Regions from separate parts of the Homo sapiens genome. Here region 2 is linked to region 1. Evidence: promoter capture Hi-C in 16 types of primary human blood cells and fetal thymus (Javierre and others, 2016). All regions are on one chromosome and are shown on one strand. Each heading gives the region's core, a stretch centred on a gene start or on the middle of the fragment in contact. The rest is flanking DNA. Distances are from core to core; before and after follow the strand shown.

Region 1 (4,802 bases), core at 916-3,415:
TCAACCTCCTGAGCAGCTGTAATTACAGGCATGCGCCACCACACCCAGCAAATTTTTTTGTATTTTTAGTAGAGACAGGATTTGCCATATTGGCCAGGCTGGTCTCGAACTCCTGACCTCAAGTGATCTGCCAGCCTTGGCTTCCCAAAGTGTTGGAATTACAGGCATGAGCCCCTTCACCTGGCCCCTTTGTAGTTTTAAACCAGGGATTGGCAAACACTTTTTTTGTAAAAGAAGAGATAGTATTCTAGGTTTTGCACACCCTACTGTCTGTTGCACACCCAAGTACTCAACTCTGCTGTGCTATGGCAGAGAGGCAGTCATAGAATGGATGTGCATAGATGGATTGGATGTCTCCCAATAAAACTTTAGACATTGGTCAATTCCGAGGAACAAAACAGTGATTTCTGAAACTTTAATGTACACACAAATCTCCTGAAGATCTTGTTAAAATGTAGATTCAGTTAAGTCTGCTATGCAGTCCAAGATAGTAGTGATAGTGGTAGTGAGAGAGGTTGGGCTGAATAAACTTTGAGTTGCAAGGAGCTAAAGGATTATCATCTCCGTTTCTAGCCTCTAGGCCTGGCATAATTGCTCAGCGTAGTGCTAAGGATGGTTTAGGTGACTAAATTTTGAAACTATGACTCCCCATCTAATGCAGCAAAAGCCAAAGTCCTTACCGTGGTCTTTCAGGCCCTACAAGACCAGCCCCCTTTAATATGTTTGACCTCATCTCCTACTCTCTGCTCTTGCCACTATGGTTTCCGTGCTGTTCCTTGAACCCAAAAAGCACACTCCGTCTCAGATCTTAGTACTTGGTGTTTCCTCTACCTGGAAAATTCCTCCTCCAAGGTAGCTGCTTAGCCTTCTTCCTCACTTCCTTCAGTACTAGCTCAAATGTCAGTAAGGCTTTCCCTGACCACCGTTTTTTCTTTTCTCTACCATTTCACTATCTGACATGTATTTACTTGTCTTCCCCTTACTTAGATTGTAAGCTCCATGTAAATATGTTTTGTTCATAATCCCTAGCACTTAAGAGTTCCCAGCACACAGTAAGGTGCTTAATAAATATTTGAATGAATATATAACAGACTTTGCAGCTAACCAGGATATCTTGAGGTCGGAGGCTGCTGTTGTTTCTCCAGGCTCCCTCAGGATGCACTGTTGCCAGTCAGCGTTACTCATTTTATTCCCTAGGGAACAGTGGGTTTGGTAGAACTCTCTTCTAAATCTCTTTTTCATAGAATTTAAATTATAAATTGGTCATTTACTGTTGTCACACAATATTGCGTTGCTGAATTTTCCACTGATTATATTCATTTTATTTCCTCCCAGAACTTGGTTTCTTGTTTTTCTGCTCACTGTCCACACCCACTCCACCCCAAGGCTGGAATAATTCTCTTGGAGCAAAAAAATCATCTTTTTCTTTGTATTTCATTGAACGTTCTCTTTACAGTGTTAGGTAAACCTAAAAAAAAAGGAAACAAAAGTCTAATAATTCGTAATACTCAGGCCTACTGGATGTATAACATCATAGGGTAGCTGAAGACTCTTTGTGAGGCCAGAGCTTTAGGATTTAAAAAGCCACCAACCATGACCGTGTCCGACACGTTCTACAGAGAACTCCTAGGTTACTGGGTGATTGTTTGGTGGGGAAGCGGCGAGTTGTCTTTTTTTCAAAAGACGTTTTGGGGTATGGAGTTTGCTCGCTCTGCATACAGAAGGAATTCTAGAAGCTGGGATCGCACCACCCACCCCACGCACCCCTTACTTGCAGAAACCTTTGCCCCCCAACCCCCACCCCCACCCCAAATAAGGGCTCTTCAAGGGGCAGTTGCCAGCTCCAGAGCCAGCTGCTTGACACCTATTGTCCCCGTTTGGGCGTCAAACGATTTCGCCTGAAGGACCCTAGCGTCGATTGCTCTCAAAACTCAAGGGGCCTTTCCTTCGGCCTTGCCGGGGCCATCCCCACCTGCGTCCAGGAGGCGCCCCACAGCGCCGGGGCCGGGGGACGGCGGAGAAGCTAGCGGGCGGCCTCTTCCGGGCAGGCGTTCGCGCCGGGCAGCCCGAGCGGCCGCGAAGGCCCCCGCTCTCCGCTTCTCCCGCCCCTCGCGACCCAGAGGGCTGCTGGCTGGCTAAGTCCCTCCCGCTCCCGGCTCTCGCCTCACTAGGAGCGGCTCTCGGTGCAGCGGGACAGGGCGAAGCGGCCTGCGCCCACGGAGCGCGCGACACTGCCCGGAAGGGACCACCACCCTTGCCCCCTCAGCTGCCCACTCGTGATTTCCAGCGGCCTCCGCGCGCGCACGGTGAGCGCCACCCGGGACCGAGCCGCTGCAGGGGAAGAGGGCCGCTGCGCCCGGGTGTCCTTTATCTCCGGACCCGCTGGAGCTTCCGAGGGGCTTGCCCCCAAGTCCCCCCACCCCACCCCGGTCATTTCCCATGCCCTTCTCTGCCCCCAAGCCCCGACCTCTCTCTTTCCTCCCTTCTCCGGAAGCCGGCAAAAGCCGGCCCTCCCCGGTAGGGACCGTTGCAGTGGCCGTTGGCGGCCGGCGCGGCGATGCCCCGCCTCCGGCGCGAGCCTCGGAGCCCCCGGGCTGGTAGGCCGAGCCGGCGGCTCCGCGGGGGAGGGGCGGGTCGGGGGGCGGTGCGAGGCCCAGCCGGGCGCCCCGCTGGCGGGTCGCGCGCGCGCCCGCGCACTCTTCCTGCCCTCGAGGCGCGCCGCGCCCCCTCCCCCACCCGCTCGCGTAGGCTACCGCTCGCTGCGCGTTTTGTCCCGCGTCTCGCCCCGTCCGTCTCCTGACTGGCCGCTCTTGTCCTTCCTCCCGCTTTTTCTTCTCTCTCCTTGCGGTCTGAAGATGCCCTCGGCCACCAGCCACAGCGGGAGCGGCAGCAAGTCGTCCGGACCGCCACCGCCGTCGGGTTCCTCCGGGAGTGAGGCGGCCGCGGGAGCCGGGGCCGCCGCGCCGGCTTCTCAGCACCCCGCAACCGGCACCGGCGCTGTCCAGACCGAGGCCATGAAGCAGATTCTCGGGGTGATCGACAAGAAACTTCGGAACCTGGAGAAGAAAAAGGTGCCAGGAGTTGGCGGGGAAGGGAGGGGTGGCTGCGGCCGGGCTCTGCGGCCCCTCCGACCCTGGTCGCTGGAGCCTTCGCTTCTTTTCGTCTCGGGAGCGTTACTAGGTCCCCTCCTCCCACCCCCTGGCCCACACGCCCCGTCTCCACGTTCAGCGGGAGCTTCGTGCCCAGAAAACGGGCTCTTGGAAGAGGCACTTGTCACCTGACTCGGACGCGGCACTGTACCCCAGGCCTCTTTATTACTCTTCCGCTGTGGGTCCGGCTTTTTGGCCTTTAGGAGTGGGACATGTGAGGGTGGGGGCCTGTCGTCAGGACTTCACTGTATGGTGCCCTTCTTTCCGTCTCTGAGGCCCGATTTCTCTGACGAGGGCCCAAAATGAAGAGGTCCCTGCGCGGGGGGCTCCGGGTTCAACCGACCGCCTCGTGGAGTTGGGGCGGCCTGCGTCCTGCAGCCTTGGGGTCTGTCCGCTCGGTTACCATGCACTCGAGACCTGTCGAGCGTCCCCTCTTCTTCCGTAGGAGAGAAGTGTGTTTAGAATCTTAAGGTAGAACTGCCTTTCCGGCAGGCCCATTTTGAATGGGTCTTCGATTTGCTACCCCCGCGCCCATGCGATGGGCTCCCCTGCGTTTCCCTCTTTGTTTCAATTGTTTAGGTGTCCCCCCGAGCCTCAGGCTCAGCTCAATCGCGAGATGATTTTCTGCAGCGACTTTTTGTTCCTAGGGGACTGTGAAGGGGCGGGGGACTGCCACGATTTAGATTCGTTGGGGGCTGGGTCCTGGGGAGACTGGAGAGGATGGCTGGGACTCGGGGCACATGGAGAGAGCGTCTAACATGGCGGCGGCTGCGGGGAGAGGGAAGCGCTTTACTGGAGCTGCATTGTGAGCACAAAGCGAAAGCAGAGGGGGAGGGCAGAGACCAGGCAGCCGCCCCGACTGGCCTCCTTAGGCCCCCCTCTAAAAAAAAAAAAAATCGAGCCACACCCACGATTTTTTGGATTCAATATTTAGTCCTTGTAGATCAAACTACTGAGGTATATCTTCATCTGCAAGTCAGCCTTTTGTTTTATGCTTTCATCGCAGGACAGTGTAAACTCTTGTTTAGAGGGGCGTGTGTATGTATGTAGAGAAAAGGTCTGGGCAGAGTGAATAATTAAAATGAGTAAGATCAGAGGTGGAAGGGGAGAAACAAATTAGTCGTTTGTAAAAACGAGGTAATTACGTCTGTGACTATCATGTTAACTTGAATTTTACCTTATAAAGTAAAATGAAGCCTTGATAACTTCTACTTGTCTGCCTCTAGGAAAACATATTTATAACATCTTGAATTTCCAGGAAATCATTTTGCAGTGTTTATGTGGCCAGACACCTAATAGTGTTACTTGAGGTGCTGATATAGTAACTGGCTAAAACTTGGGCTGTGGGAAATAAGTTGAAGAAAACTGGTGATGTTTAGGTCTTATTAATTTTACTTATATATTTTACATTTTGGGAGAGTTTTAAAACATTTAGATTTGATACTTCCCTGTTTCATCTTCGGTATTGAAGGTTGGAAGTTTTACTTGAATTTCATGGACTTGGGATTTCTTTTTTTTCCCAATCCTTTATTTTGATAAATGTATGTTTTATTATAGGTAATTGGAATAGTAAATGTAGTTACATCAAGAAAGTAACAAAAGTATTTTAAGTGTAAGGTAGCTACATTCAAATGTTGAATGGAATAAGCATGC
Region 2 (4,802 bases), core at 1,591-4,090, 410 kb after region 1:
TCACCAAAATGGACAATTCCTTAACTCACTGTGAAATCACCAAGACTTAGACCCTTGGAAGTGCGAAAGCCAAGAGTTGGAGTCTTCTGTTTCTCTTTGCAGTTCTGCTGTGGCCCTGGAGGAGCAGGTCTAGCTAGAATTTGGAGGGGAGCTAGAATTAGCAGGGAAGGCTGGGGAGAAGAGAGTAGGGGAGGCAGAGCAAGTCAAAGGATTCCCCTCCCTTCATTTTTTCCTAAGTGAATAAAGTTAGGTGAATCAACTTACCACTTTTTGTTTTTTGGAACTCATTTATCAAACTTAGGATCTTTTTCTTTTAACTACTTTTTTTTTGGTGTCGTATACAAACAGCCTCTGGTTCTAATTACTTTTTCTAATAAGTCAAGCAGAATGCTTGATTAAAGTTTTTTCCTTTTACTATTCCACAGTTTAATATAGATCTTAGTTATTTTCTTTTCCCATTTAGGACACGTGTTTTAGTAATATAGACTGCATGCATTGATCCCTTTAGAAATTTTACTGATGATTTATATTTATAGCCACAGATGTCTATATTCAAACAAAGTTTATTTTTCTATGATAAAAATAATACAAGTGTCCTAAAGAAAATTTGGAATATATAGGAAAAAGAAGAAAAAAGAAAAATTCCCATATAGTCCCAACACCCAAAGGTCATAGCTATTACATTTTGCTATATTTATTTATCTATTTATTTATTTTTTAGACAGAGTCTCACTCTGTTGCCCAGGCTGGAGTGCAGTGCATGATCTTGGCTCACTGCAGCCTCTGCCTCTGGGTTCAAGAGATTCTCATGCCTCAGCCTCCCGAGTAGCTGGAAGTATAGGAGTGTGCCACCACGCCAGCTAATTTTTGTATTTTTAGTAGAGACAGGGTTTCATTGGCCAGGCTGGTCCTGAACTCTTGACCTCAGGTGACCCACCCACTTTGGCCCCCCAAAGTGCTGAGATTACAGGCATGAGCCACCGCGCCTGGCTTGATTGTAAAAGTAGAGCATTTGGGCTGTGACCCTGAAGCTCAGTGAAAGAGCTTAATTGTTCCTGTGGTCAGTGCTTTAAAGACAACTACCACTTTGAGTAAAGGTCAGGGCTCATTTGGAAGTAGGATTTTAAAAATTAACTAGGCACATTTCAAAGAGCTAGTTCTTAATGAAGAAAACACTGTGATGGCTGGTTTTTGGAGCATTTTGCTTTTCATGTAGATGTGACTGATCTGTTGAATTTGTTGAGTGAATAATTGGGCTCTATAATAGTATGGTGTTCTTCCTTCCCCTACACACACACTTGGTGTCTTGATGAATGTCATACATAGGCACCTCTTGATTATCCACTGTGGATAATCTATTACGGCAGTGAGCTGGCTAAAATTCCAACCCCAGATTGGTTTGCTCAAACCACTTAATATGTTTCTGGGCCACTCCTGTTTAGGCAGTGTGTGCTCGGGTAATGAAAGCTTCTGCTAATGTCAGCCAAAGCATAGTTGAGAAAATAAATATGCTAAAACGAAAAAAAAGCCTTATAATTTATTTCAAAAGTCATAGAAAATATTTTGATTGTATTTGTCACTGTTTCTTATAAGTCCAGATAAGTAAGTGCTGATATACAATTACCACATTTTAAAAAATTCTTTGTTTATTGGTCTGTGGAGGGTATGAAAGTGAAGCTACAATGGAACAAAGTCATCATTGTCAGTAAAGGAGAGATACCCTGAGAATCCTAAAAACACTTTACGGAATAGCAAAGTAGAGTTCTGTAATGGAAATACTGTATATGCTGGGCTGGAGGAGACAAAAAACCCAGAGTTCCAACCCCATATCTACCACTGGCTACCGTGTGACCTTGCAGCAGTCAGGTCCCATCACAGAGCTCCATGCTTGTGTCTGTAGATTCAAGGAGCAGAACCAGAACTTTCAGATTTCCCTCAAGAATTTTGTGATGCAGTGTTTGAATTGAGCCCAAGTCCAAATGACACAATTTTTCAAGTCAATTTTGAAATGTGTCTTTGAGCCTCATCCCTATATGGTGGCCAAATCAAGCCTGTATAAACTTCTACATGTGCTGTACCCCTCAGAAGACTTGATAGATGAGACCCTTTGAAGTGTCAAAAGGGACTTTGAGATTCATTCATAAAGTGCGGCAGCCTGTGCAAGCATTTAGCAGATGGCAGCGTTCCCTAAGAATCTTCATACTACCTGTAGCTAAATGCGGGAAATTAAAAATAATATGTGTGCGTTGTGTTTATATCTGTGTATGTGTACGTGTGTATTTGATTACCACTTGAATTTATTTCTCATCACAGTGATTATTTGCAGACTTACTTGACTTTTCTTATTCCTAAGTGCATCTGGGTGGTTTTGTTTTGAAGGTGGTGCTCCAAATTACTACCCCAACAGCTTTGGTGCTCCGGAACAACAGCCTTCTGCCCTGGAGCACAGCATCCAATATTCTGGAGAAGTGCGGAGATTCAACACTGCCAATGATGATAACGTTACTCAGGTAATGACTTCTCTTTATCTGCTATGGAAGTCACCTGCTAATTCTCCTTGTCAATGCCTGCATAATCCCCCTCCCTGCAAATGCCCCAACTGTCTGATGTATCTTAAATTGAATTCAAGGAAGACTCATCTGTAATAGTAAATTGGGCCCCTTACTGGGTGGAGTTGAAGGGTTATATTACTCTGGTCTTTTGCCTCAAAGCATGCAGACTCCGTCTCAGTTTCTTCAAACTTTATTGAAGGGATATGGGGAGGGGGCATTGGGGAAACAGTTATCTCATGGGAATTTAAGAAATGAGCATGTACAGCTTACGTGGAGACAAATCTAAGAATCTGGGCAGGACAGTCCAGGTTCAAGGACTAGAACTAGAGATCCAAAATAGCTCCAGGAGCCTCGGCCACAAGAGTGTGGGCGTTTCCACTGCAGGGCTCGTCCTTCACGTGGCTTATTCTCCATCTGTCTGCTTCTGCTTGCCAATGCTAATTGATTATTTTTACCACAGCTTCCTGTTTTCTCCTATCTGCGTCAGAGCTTCTGTTTTATCATGGTTGTGGCTCTTCCACAACAATGGAAAACTCTCCTTTATGGCGTCTTTCTCCATTATTACTTTTTTTTTTTGGACCACCTTTTACTCCTTCTCTCAACATGTCTATCTCTAGATTCTAGAGAGATGGAATCCTATTGACTTGGCTAATCTTTTCACCCCAGGTTGCACCATTGGCCTTGGTCAGGCTCTAGTTAACCGCCCCAGGGCAAATGCTCATCCTCTTTCCAGTTGCCTATGGCTGCCCTAAGAGCTGTTTCAGCACATGCTATGAAGGAGGCCCTTGGACTTGGAAGGGCTGTAGGTGGGCAGCTGCCTCCTTAATGTGTCCAGTGCAACTTATACCACACACAATAAAATAATAAAGTTAAAGGTATAGTTGTTCTAGAGCTCTGTTTGAGCAGTTAGTGTTAAACTTAGTATTTAAATTAGATTAGAACCTATTTCTAGTTTCTCAGTTTGTGAATGTGGGTTCCAAGTAAAAAATACTTATACATGAATTAATTCGCTGTGAGGATATCTTTGCTTGAAAAGCATTTACGTATATACATATATACGTATATATAAAAAAGAAATTACATTATTGTGGGATATAAACCATTTTTAGATGAGCTTAAAACATTTCCTGCATACCTTTTATGTAACTGCATTATTTTTGGTGATGCAGATGACACCAAGTATATTACAGTACATTCCCTGCCTCTCAAAGAATTTTGCCTATGTGAGGTCAATACAGGTATTAAACCAGCTCATACAACCCCTGCAAAAATTAATGAGGCTATTGCTTACACATGAAAATTTATTATGTGCTCATTCTTATTGAGAGAATTTCTTATCACTATATAGGATATAGTGTGGTTTTTAAGTAATCACAATACTATTGTTATAGATTCATAGCATAATTCTGTGATGATGTATCACATGGGAAATACATAAGAAGGTCCAGATTTATTCTCTTAAAAATGATTCACTTGGGCTTGCATCTGTCTATGGCAGACTAGCTTGTATCTTACTTACCGTTTCATGGAGAACATTGAAAAGGTAGGTAAAATACATAAAGCACTTGTTTGAAGGCTTTGGAGAGCTAACAAAGCAACAAGGATTTAAGGGACCAAGATCAAAGATGGAAAAGAAGTGCAGGAAAAAAAAGTGCAGTGAAGTAAGCTTGACATTTGGTTTCCTTTCCTCTTAAGGTATTTGTTAATTTGTAAGCACTGGTCCAGAAGCTGAGTGGTGTTTACAGCAGTCTCATGAGTCTGAAGGGACAAAAATTGGAATTCAAGGTCTGCTAAGAAGCAGAGCCTCTAGTTATACTCAAGGCTTTCAGTTGAAATCCTTAAAGGGCCATGCCTAGGAATAAGGGCAAACATGAAATAAACTTGCTTTCACAATACAGGAAACATAACTTTGCCTCTGCTCAGTCTCAGATTGGATTAAGGTGATCTCTTTCTACGCCATCTGTCAGAAGCAAACAAAATTTTCTTTGGTGGAAAATAGAAACTCAAATGATTCTAGACCTTTTTATATGGAAATGTTCAGCATTCAACAATAAATGACCAGGCACCTAACACATTAAGACCTTATGACTGAAAATCAAGAGGGAGAAAAAACCCCCTACAAACTGACAGTAGAAACAAACCTAATGGAGGCTTAAATAATGGAACTGTCAGATACAGGTTTTAAAATGACTGATTAATAGGTTTGAGAAAATAGATGGGCTGGGCGCGGTGGCTCACGCCTGTAATCCC

The links. Contacts are between HindIII fragments. The CHiCAGO score rates a contact against its expected background, and 5 or more counts as called.
Region 2: a fragment that was not itself captured here is called in contact with the fragment with the promoter of CAPRIN1 in region 1 in 2 of 17 cell types (monocytes and fetal thymus); the score reaches 5.4 in monocytes.

The regions. Positions count from the first base shown.
Region 1 is chr11:34,049,566-34,054,367 of GRCh38, forward strand. It overlaps CAPRIN1 (cell cycle associated protein 1), which reads left to right and starts at 2,166. Exons shown (of 19, transcript NM_005898.5): 1 at 2,166-2,306; 2 at 2,856-3,071. The coding sequence starts at 2,856. LOC101929918 (a long non-coding RNA gene) reads right to left here and starts at 3,762. Exons shown (of 3, transcript XR_931177.3): 1 at 2,754-3,762; 2 at 1,106-1,468. RefSeq lists silencers at 1,821-2,020, 1,880-2,429, 2,470-2,769 and enhancers at 3,380-3,449, 3,520-3,589, 3,660-3,729, 3,760-4,039. The HindIII fragment of the contact is 10,606 bases long and covers 1-4,802 here.
Region 2 is chr11:34,461,726-34,466,527 of GRCh38, forward strand. CAT (catalase) reads left to right here. Exons shown (of 13, transcript NM_001752.4): 10 at 2,380-2,510. Among named protein-coding and RNA genes, the nearest start is that of CAT, 25 kb to the left of the region's middle. The HindIII fragment of the contact is 2,751 bases long and covers 1,466-4,216 here.